Linked DNA regions of Homo sapiens: all the other regions are linked to region 3. Evidence: promoter capture Hi-C in human tissues and cell types (Jung and others, 2019). All regions are on one chromosome and are shown on one strand. Each heading gives the region's core, a stretch centred on a gene start or on the middle of the fragment in contact. The rest is flanking DNA. Distances are from core to core; before and after follow the strand shown. Region 1 overlaps DGKD (diacylglycerol kinase delta). Region 2 overlaps DGKD (diacylglycerol kinase delta). Region 3 holds the start of UGT1A6 (UDP glucuronosyltransferase family 1 member A6).

Region 1 (2,700 bases), core at 74-2,573, 290 kb before region 3:
GAGGGGCTGGGCAGTCTTCTCAGAGGAAGTGAGGTCTCATAGCTGAGACATGAAGAATGATAGTGGTAAATCCACTGAGGGAAGCATGAGCCTGAGAGGGTATGTGTGTCTGTGTGTTGGTGTGTGTCTGTGTGTTTCTTTGTGTGTGTCTGTGTGTTTCTTGTGCAAATAGGCACCTCGGGGATGGGGCAGGTGGAGGGACCAGCAGTGCGAAGACCTTGGGATGGGGACACCACGTGGAGTGTGCAAAGTGGTGGAAGGGCCAGGGTGGCTGATGGAGGCCAGAGCAAGAGGACACCAGAGGGGACCAGCGTGGCTGGGGGGGGCCAGAGCGAGAGGACACCAGAGGGGACCAGGGTGGCTGGGGGGGGCAGAGCGAGAGGACTCCAGAGGGGACCAGGGTGGCTGGGGGGGGGGGCGCCAGAGTGAGAGGACTCCAGAGGGGACCAGGGTGGCTGGCAGAGGCCAGAGTGAGAGGACACCAGAGGGGAGCAGGGTGGCTGGCAGAGGCCAGAGTGAGAGGACACCAGAGGGGACCAGGGTGGCTGCGGGGGGGGCCAGAGTGAGAGGACTCCAGAGGGGACCAGGGTGGCTGGGGGGGGGGGGGTGCCAGAGTGAGAGGACTCCAGAGGGGACCAGGGTGGCTGGCAGAGGCCAGAGTGAGAGGACTCCAGAGGGGACCAGGGTGGCTGGGGGGGGGGCCAGAGCGAGAGGACACCAGAGGGGACCAGGGTGGCTGAGGGGGGCAGCAGAGTGAGAGGACTCCAGAGGGGACCAGGGTGGCTGGCAGAGGCCAGAGTGAGAGGACTCCAGAGGGGACCAGGGTGGCTGGCAGAGGCCAGAGTGAGAGGACACCAGAGGGGAGCAGGGTGGCTGGCGGGGGGCCAGAGCGAGGCGAGAGGACACCAGAGGGGACCAGGGTGGCTGGGGGGGGGGGGCAGAGTGAGAGGACACCAGAGGGGACCAGAGTGGCTGGCAGAGGCCAGAGTGAGAGGACTCCAGAGGGGACCAGGGCAGAGCTTGGGACTTACTCCTCAGGACTTGGGCTGCTGTTGAATAGTTTTATTTGGTGAAATTCTCAGATTTGCAGGTGTCAGAAAGTTCTACTCTGGCTGTAGGGTGGAGGGTGAACTGGAAGGGGAGGGAGGTTTGTAGGATTGTTAGGAGAGAGTGGAGTGGAGAGTGCGGAGGTGTCTAGGGGGCAGTGGGCAGGCTAGTGATCAGGTCAGAAGGGGGTGGAGTAGATGAAGGTGTCAGGGCTTCTGCTGAGTACAGCAGCAGGCTGGTTAAGTGAGCTCAGGAGTCCAGAAGAGGGGCTGTGGGGTGGTGGGGGAGGCTTCTTTATCTTCCATGTCTGTCACATTCTTTAGCCTTATTTTATTTAATTTGTTGGTTTTTTTCCTAGTTCTAGTTATCAAAGTTTTTATATTGTTTGTTACTACATTTACTTGCAACCTCCCCTCCCAGCTCCCACCCCCCACCCCCGATTTTGGCATACTTTGTATTTATCCTGGCTTATTCTTGTTTGAAAGGTAAAATTTTTTTTTTTTTGAGATGGAGTCTCGCTCTGTTGCCCAGGCTGGAGTGCAGTGGTGCGATCTTGGCTTACTGCAAGCTCCGCCTCCCGGGTTCACGCCATTCTCCTGCCTCAGCCTCCTGAGTGGCTGGGAGTACAGGTGCCGCCACCACGCCCGACTAATTTTTTTTTTGTATTTTTAGTAGAGACGGGGTTTCACAGCGTTAGCCAGGATGGTCTCGATCTCCTGACCTCGTGATCCGCCGGCCTCAGCCTCCCAAAGTGCTGGGATTAAAGGTGTGAGCCACCGCGCCCGGCCAATAGGTAAAATATTTTTTAAAAGTTTTCTGTTTAACAAAGTCATTCCCTCCAGGGAAAGATTTTCCTTTGATCTTCTCCATTTTCTCTTGGGTTTTCACATGTTTTCATTGACTTAGGATTTCTCCCCTGATTTATTAAACTTTGTGTTATAGTAATTTTAGTTGTTGTCTTCAAGTCCTACGCTTGTTTGCTTTTTTTGAGACAGTCTCACTGTGTCGCCCAGGCTGGAGTGCAGTGATGCGATCTCAGCTCACTGCAACTTCCACCTTCTGGGTTCAAGTGATTCTTGTGCCTCAGCCTTCCGAGTAGCTGGGATTACAGGCTCCCGCCACCACACCCGGCTAATTTTTGTATTTTTAGTAGAGATGGGTTTCACCATGTTGGCCAGGCTGGTCTTGAACTCCTGAGCTCAAGTGATCTGCCCGCTTCAGCCTCCCAAAGTGCTAGGATTACAGGTGTGAGCCACCATGCCCAGTTTTATCATCTTCCCTTAGCAGCCTAGAGCTGTGGAACACTACAAGACTGTAGGGTCCATTCGAGTTTTATGCTTTTATTTACTTATTTCTCCAAGTCAGTGTTTTTCATCATTTTTAAACCCATGTTCTCTTTTGATGAAGGATTAATTTTTATTGCCTCATTTAGTTTTTGAAATTTCAAAATGCAGCAAAAAGGAATGAAAGCAGTGGGCTTTATTCTCACCCTCCCTGACCCTCCTGGAGAGTCATTCCTACCTGTATTCCATTTGGTCTTATTTATTTATAATATATGCTACATGAGAGCAAGGATTTTTGTCTGTTTTGTTCATGGCTTTACACCAAGTTCCCAGCACACAGTAGGTGCACATAACTCTTTGTTGAAGAGTG
Region 2 (2,743 bases), core at 241-2,740, 260 kb before region 3:
ATACCAAAGAGAAAGGAAATCAGTGTATCGAAGAGATGTCTGCACTCATGTGATTATAGCAGCACTATTCACAATAGCCAAGATTTGGAAGCAACCTAAGTGTTCATCAACAGACACATGGATAAAGAAAATGTACATATACACATGGAGTACTATTTAGCCATGAAAAAGAATGAGATCCTGTCATTTGCCACAACATGGATGGAACAGGAGGACCCTTAATGTTAAGTGAAGTAAGCCAAGCACAGAAAGACAAACTTCACATGTTCTTATTTGTGGGAGCTAATAAAAAAAAAAAGAAAACAGTTGAACTAATGGAGATAGGCAGTAGATTGATGGTTACCAGAGGCTGGGAAGGGTAGTGGGGCTGGGGGGATGGTTAATAGGTACAAAAATGTAGTTAGAATAAACGAGATCTAGTATTTGATAGCACAACGGGGTGACAACAGTTAATAATTTGCTGTACATTTAAAAATAACTCAGAGTATACTTGGATTGTTTATAACACAGAGAAAGGATAAATCCTTGAGGCAATGGATACCCCATTTACTCTGTGATTATTCTGTGCCTGTATTAGAGTGTCTCATATGCCCCATAAATACATATACCTACCATGTACCCACAAAAAAAATTAAAAAGAACGTTGATGTATTTCTTTTGTGAAATGCAAGTTCATAGCCTTTTTTATATCAGGAAGATTTTTTTTCTACTGATTGATAAGAACCCTTTATATATTATGGATATCATTTTCATTTGTTGATTATTACCAGGTCACAGCTTTATTTCCAGTCAAGTTGTTCAGGTCCTGCATAGTCTGATATTGAGGTTTTCTACAAGAACATTTATATGTGATACATGCTCATGGTATTCCAGACTTACAGCTGAGCAGACTTCCCTCAACTGTTCAAATGCTGGCCATCACTGTGGGCTCCCTGAAGCAGTAGCAACTGTGTCTTCCACTGTTCGGAAAACAACAGTTGTTACTTCTTTTTTTATTTCCTTAGGGTTTACTACTGTGTCTAAGTAGCAAGCAATTATAAATGTCCACTTAAATTGATTGCTGATGAATATATAAAAACTAAATTTCACTGTCTTTTTGGTTTGAGATCATTCTTATTTTTAATTTTTAGTGATCCTTGATAACCATTTTTGTTTTCGGTTCAGTGTGAATACCTGAATGAAATAGTAATTTTTATGTCTGTGTGAGGTCGGTTTTAAGAAAGCGTTCATAGCTATCAGCACTTGCCTTTTGTTCATGGATCTGTTGAACCTGTTTCTTTCTCTAGGTCATAACTCCATGCAGGAAGCTCATCTTGTGTGCTGATAACAGAAAAGAAATGGAAGATTGGATTGCAGCATTAAAGACTGTGCAGAACAGGGAGCACTTTGAGGTTAAAAAAGAAAATACCCTTCTCCAAATGCCTCCTGTTGCCTCCCTCACCCCAGTGTCTGCTGTCTGAGTGTCTCCCACGTGCGGACCCACAGTCTGGAGCTCACGTTCTTAGCATGTTCTTTATACAATTAAAGCTTATTGCTTGTCCTCTCAGCAGACCTGTCCTTTATAAACCTTCCTCCTCTCCTCTCTTGGATACTTTGTTTAATCTTGTCCAAGTTACTGCATTTAACAATTTAAAAGAGAAGTCTTATCTTTGCCCTCTTGGTTTCGTTCTTCCAGCCCACCCAGTACAGCATGGACCACTTCTCAGGGATGCACAATTGGTACGCCTGTTCCCACGCGAGGCCGACCTACTGCAATGTGTGCCGTGAGGCTCTGTCTGGGGTCACGTCGCACGGGCTGTCCTGCGAGGGTACGGATGTGCGTTTGTTATTCTGTCAGGAAAGGTGGCCTGGCATTTTACTTGATAAAGCCTTGGAAATCCAAACCCAGTCACCATAAATAAGCCGTTGTCACCCATGTGGTCAGTCAAGGGCACAGCGATTTCTGTGATGCCATTCTTGTTTATTTTACCTGCCGAAGAGTCCTTGATAAATCATTTTTTATAGTGCTCAGAGTGAAAAGGGAAGTGGTGGGTGGCAAAAGGAGAAATGGGAAATCTAGAGCACACAGAGGGAAAGGCACTGAAGGAACAGTGGTCGGCCCCTGTGTCTCACACTCTGCAGCCGGGGAAACGGGGCTGTGCATATATGGACTGAAAGTGTGTTACAGACTTAGAGGTCAGGGCTGCAGGGTTTGGGCAAGGGCATTCAGTCTGGTGGCAAAGCAGTGGGCTAGAGCAGGGCTTGTTAGCTATAGCCTGGACCACACCCTGCCTCTGCCTGTTTTTGTACAGCTCCCACGCTTCAGACTGGCTTTTAAATTTTTAAATGATTGGAAAAAATCAAAAGAAGAATCATATTTTGTGACACATGAAAATTACATGAAATTCAAATTTGTGCCCGTAAAAAAACATTGTCTCTGGCTGCTTTTGTGCTACATGACAGAGTTGATTAGTGGTGACGGAAGCTGGTTGCGACCTGCAGAGTCTCCACTGCTCACTCTCTGGCCTGTTACAGAAAGCTTACTGATCCCCAGCTTTCCCTGCCGCTGCCGGTCCCACCGCCATCAGCCTCTAAGCGTATCACAGTAGTTCACTTATAAAATGGGAGTGCCATTGGTTCCTTCCTTGACTTTTCTGGAGCTGGACGGTTCTCACAACACTGCTCAGCATGGGAAGCTCTTGGCACAGACACAGCTTGTAGGCTCATGTGCCCCTTCTCTCACAGTGTGCAAATTTAAGGCCCA
Region 3 (2,874 bases), core at 308-2,807:
CTGAGTCTTCGCATGCCTTGAACAATGAATTTGCATCCTGGTTATGTTCCCCATGGGGGCCAGCCCTGTCCTTGGAGTGGCCCCTCTAATCATGTTGCTCAGGCTTCTTCTCCCTTCCTGGGCCCCAGAACACCTCCGGTGCCAAACTTGTGGGTGGGAACAGGAACTCGCGTGCCAGCCAGGTGTGCATGACTAGCTCTGGGCAAGTCTGTTCTAGTAATTCAAGGTACCACCTCTCACTGGGACAGCCTAGTTTCTACACAGGTCTTGCTCTGGGACCGCCCTCAGCAGTGTGGTTAGCAGGCAGGGCCAGTGTGACCCTCCCTTTCTGGGCCTCAGTTGAGAAACCTGAAGCTCAGGAGAGGAGTCACTCCCCTGGCAGATGGGTGGCTGGGCCAGAAGCAGATACCAGGCTTTCTGACTCCTGCTCTAGGATTCTCACCACGTACTGGCTAGACTTATACTTCTCAAATCTTAATTTCCTAAAGGCAAGTAACAGTTTGAATGTTGTTATATTGTGATGTATAATAAGAAATATATGTTTGTCTTTGTTTCCTGGACACAGCTCCTGAAACCATAAGTGGTGGGAGCGATAAACGTGAACAAAGAATCTTTTGTTATTCAAAACAGATCCCTTTCGATCACACCTAAGTTTATGTAAAGGAGATGTAAAGTCTCTAAGGATGAGGGCTAGTTGCCAGGGAACAAAACCCTTGCGATTAGAGGGAAGAAAGGAGAGAGAGATTGAAGATTGATTTGATCACCGATGGGCAACAATCTAATCAATCATGCCTACTATGTATGGAAGCCTACATAAAAACTCAGAAGGGCAGGGTTCAGAGAGCTTTCAGGTTGCTGAAGGTGTGGAGGGTGGGGCACCCAGAGATGGCAGATGGGGCTCCATGGCCATACCCCCATATCTTGTTCTTTGTACTTTTTCCTCTGGCTATTCATCCGTATTGTTTGCAATATCCTTTGTAATAAACCAAACCTAGTAAATAAACTGTTTTCTTCAGTTCTGTGAGCCATTCTAGCAAATGATTGACTCCAAGAAAGAGGGTGTGTGAACCTCTGATTTTTGCCAAGTCAGACAGAAGTTGTGGGTAACCTGGGGACCTACTACTTGCAATTGGTGTCTGAAGTGAGGGCAGTCTTGTAGGACTGAGCCCTTAACCTGTGGGGTCCGTGCTAACTCAGAATTCAGTTCAGAATGGAATTGAATTGTAGGATACCCAGCTGGTGTTAGAGAATAGGTCCGTGTGCAAGAAAAATTCCCGCACATCATGGACATAACAGACAACGTCAATGATGAGGAATCCAGCAAGTTCGGGATAGAGAATTGGCAGGGGGTCCTCAGGGGTCTCTCCAAGTCATCTTCAAAGTGTTGCTATAACTTTTCAGAGAGGGAGAAGCAGACTTGTGGAGCTGAAGAGAAACACCCAGAAGCTCAGGTGAAAGCTGACACGGCCATAGTTGGTTCATATTAACCATGTGATTAAAATGGTTAAATATTAATTTGGGTTCTTACATATCAAAGGGTAAAATTCAGAGCAAGGGAGAGGTAGACAGGACCTGTGAAAAGCAGTGGTTAGTTTAGGGAAAATACCTAGGAGCCCTGTGATTTGGAGAGTGAAAACTCTTTATTACCGTTGTTACTTTAACTCTTTCCAGGATGGCCTGCCTCCTTCGCTCATTTCAGAGAATTTCTGCAGGGGTTTTCTTCTTAGCACTTTGGGGCATGGTTGTAGGTGACAAGCTGCTGGTGGTCCCTCAGGACGGAAGCCACTGGCTTAGTATGAAGGATATAGTTGAGGTTCTCAGTGACCGGGGTCATGAGATTGTAGTGGTGGTGCCTGAAGTTAATTTGCTTTTGAAAGAATCCAAATACTACACAAGAAAAATCTATCCAGTGCCGTATGACCAAGAAGAGCTGAAGAACCGTTACCAATCATTTGGAAACAATCACTTTGCTGAGCGATCATTCCTAACTGCTCCTCAGACAGAGTACAGGAATAACATGATTGTTATTGGCCTGTACTTCATCAACTGCCAGAGCCTCCTGCAGGACAGGGACACCCTGAACTTCTTTAAGGAGAGCAAGTTTGATGCTCTTTTCACAGACCCAGCCTTACCCTGTGGGGTGATCCTGGCTGAGTATTTGGGCCTACCATCTGTGTACCTCTTCAGGGGTTTTCCGTGTTCCCTGGAGCATACATTCAGCAGAAGCCCAGACCCTGTGTCCTACATTCCCAGGTGCTACACAAAGTTTTCAGACCACATGACTTTTTCCCAACGAGTGGCCAACTTCCTTGTTAATTTGTTGGAGCCCTATCTATTTTATTGTCTGTTTTCAAAGTATGAAGAACTCGCATCAGCTGTCCTCAAGAGAGATGTGGATATAATCACCTTATATCAGAAGGTCTCTGTTTGGCTGTTAAGATATGACTTTGTGCTTGAATATCCTAGGCCGGTCATGCCCAACATGGTCTTCATTGGAGGTATCAACTGTAAGAAGAGGAAAGACTTGTCTCAGGTTGGTGGGTTTATTTCTTTTGGACTGCCTTGTTTCTTCCAGGCTCTGTCCTCCCTCACTCATTTGGCTCCTTGAGCCGACTGTCCCTTGGAGGATTTCCTGGAGAAACGGTGGGGGGAAGTGATACCCGGCTCGGAGCAGCGGGAACACATAGGAGACCTGAGGCTGAAGTGATACAGAGGCATTCGGATGAAGACAGGGCTCATGCTTGGCAAGAGTAGGAGATTTGCTTAGTTGGATAATCTGGGACAGTCACATACTCATTGAATGAGCCTTAGAAATGTCCCAGTTCAAACAGAGGTGAAGGCTTGACTAAGGGAACAGGTCCAGGTTAAAATCCA

The links. The method cuts DNA at HindIII sites, captures the fragments that hold promoters and counts their contacts. A contact is called where the count stands out against the background at its distance.
Region 1: a fragment that was not itself captured here is called in contact with the fragment with the promoter of UGT1A6 in region 3 in 2 of the 25 tissues and cell types used here (mesenchymal stem cells and stomach).
Region 2: a fragment that was not itself captured here is called in contact with the fragment with the promoter of UGT1A6 in region 3 in 2 of the 25 tissues and cell types used here (liver and thymus).

Annotation. Positions count from the first base shown.
Region 1 is chr2:233,396,610-233,399,309 of GRCh38, forward strand. All of the region lies in intron 3 of DGKD (diacylglycerol kinase delta), which reads left to right. Among named protein-coding and RNA genes, the nearest start is that of DGKD, 43 kb to the left of the region's middle. RefSeq lists an enhancer at 2,391-2,700. The HindIII fragment of the contact is 5,802 bases long and covers 1-2,700 here.
Region 2 is chr2:233,433,094-233,435,836 of GRCh38, forward strand. It overlaps DGKD (diacylglycerol kinase delta), which reads left to right. Exons shown (of 30, transcript NM_152879.3): 4 at 1,287-1,391; 5 at 1,676-1,808; 6 at 2,725-2,743. Among named protein-coding and RNA genes, the nearest start is that of DGKD, 80 kb to the left of the region's middle. The HindIII fragment of the contact is 4,831 bases long and covers 1-2,743 here.
Region 3 is chr2:233,691,333-233,694,206 of GRCh38, forward strand. UGT1A6 (UDP glucuronosyltransferase family 1 member A6) reads left to right here and starts at 1,558. Exons shown (of 5, transcript NM_001072.4): 1 at 1,558-2,533. The coding sequence starts at 1,673. The region is part of intron 1 of UGT1A8 (UDP glucuronosyltransferase family 1 member A8); the gene reads left to right. The region is part of intron 1 of UGT1A10 (UDP glucuronosyltransferase family 1 member A10); the gene reads left to right. All of the region lies in intron 1 of UGT1A9 (UDP glucuronosyltransferase family 1 member A9), which reads left to right. It also overlaps UGT1A7 and UGT1A. RefSeq lists enhancers at 1-303, 304-910. The HindIII fragment of the contact is 31,227 bases long and covers 1-2,874 here.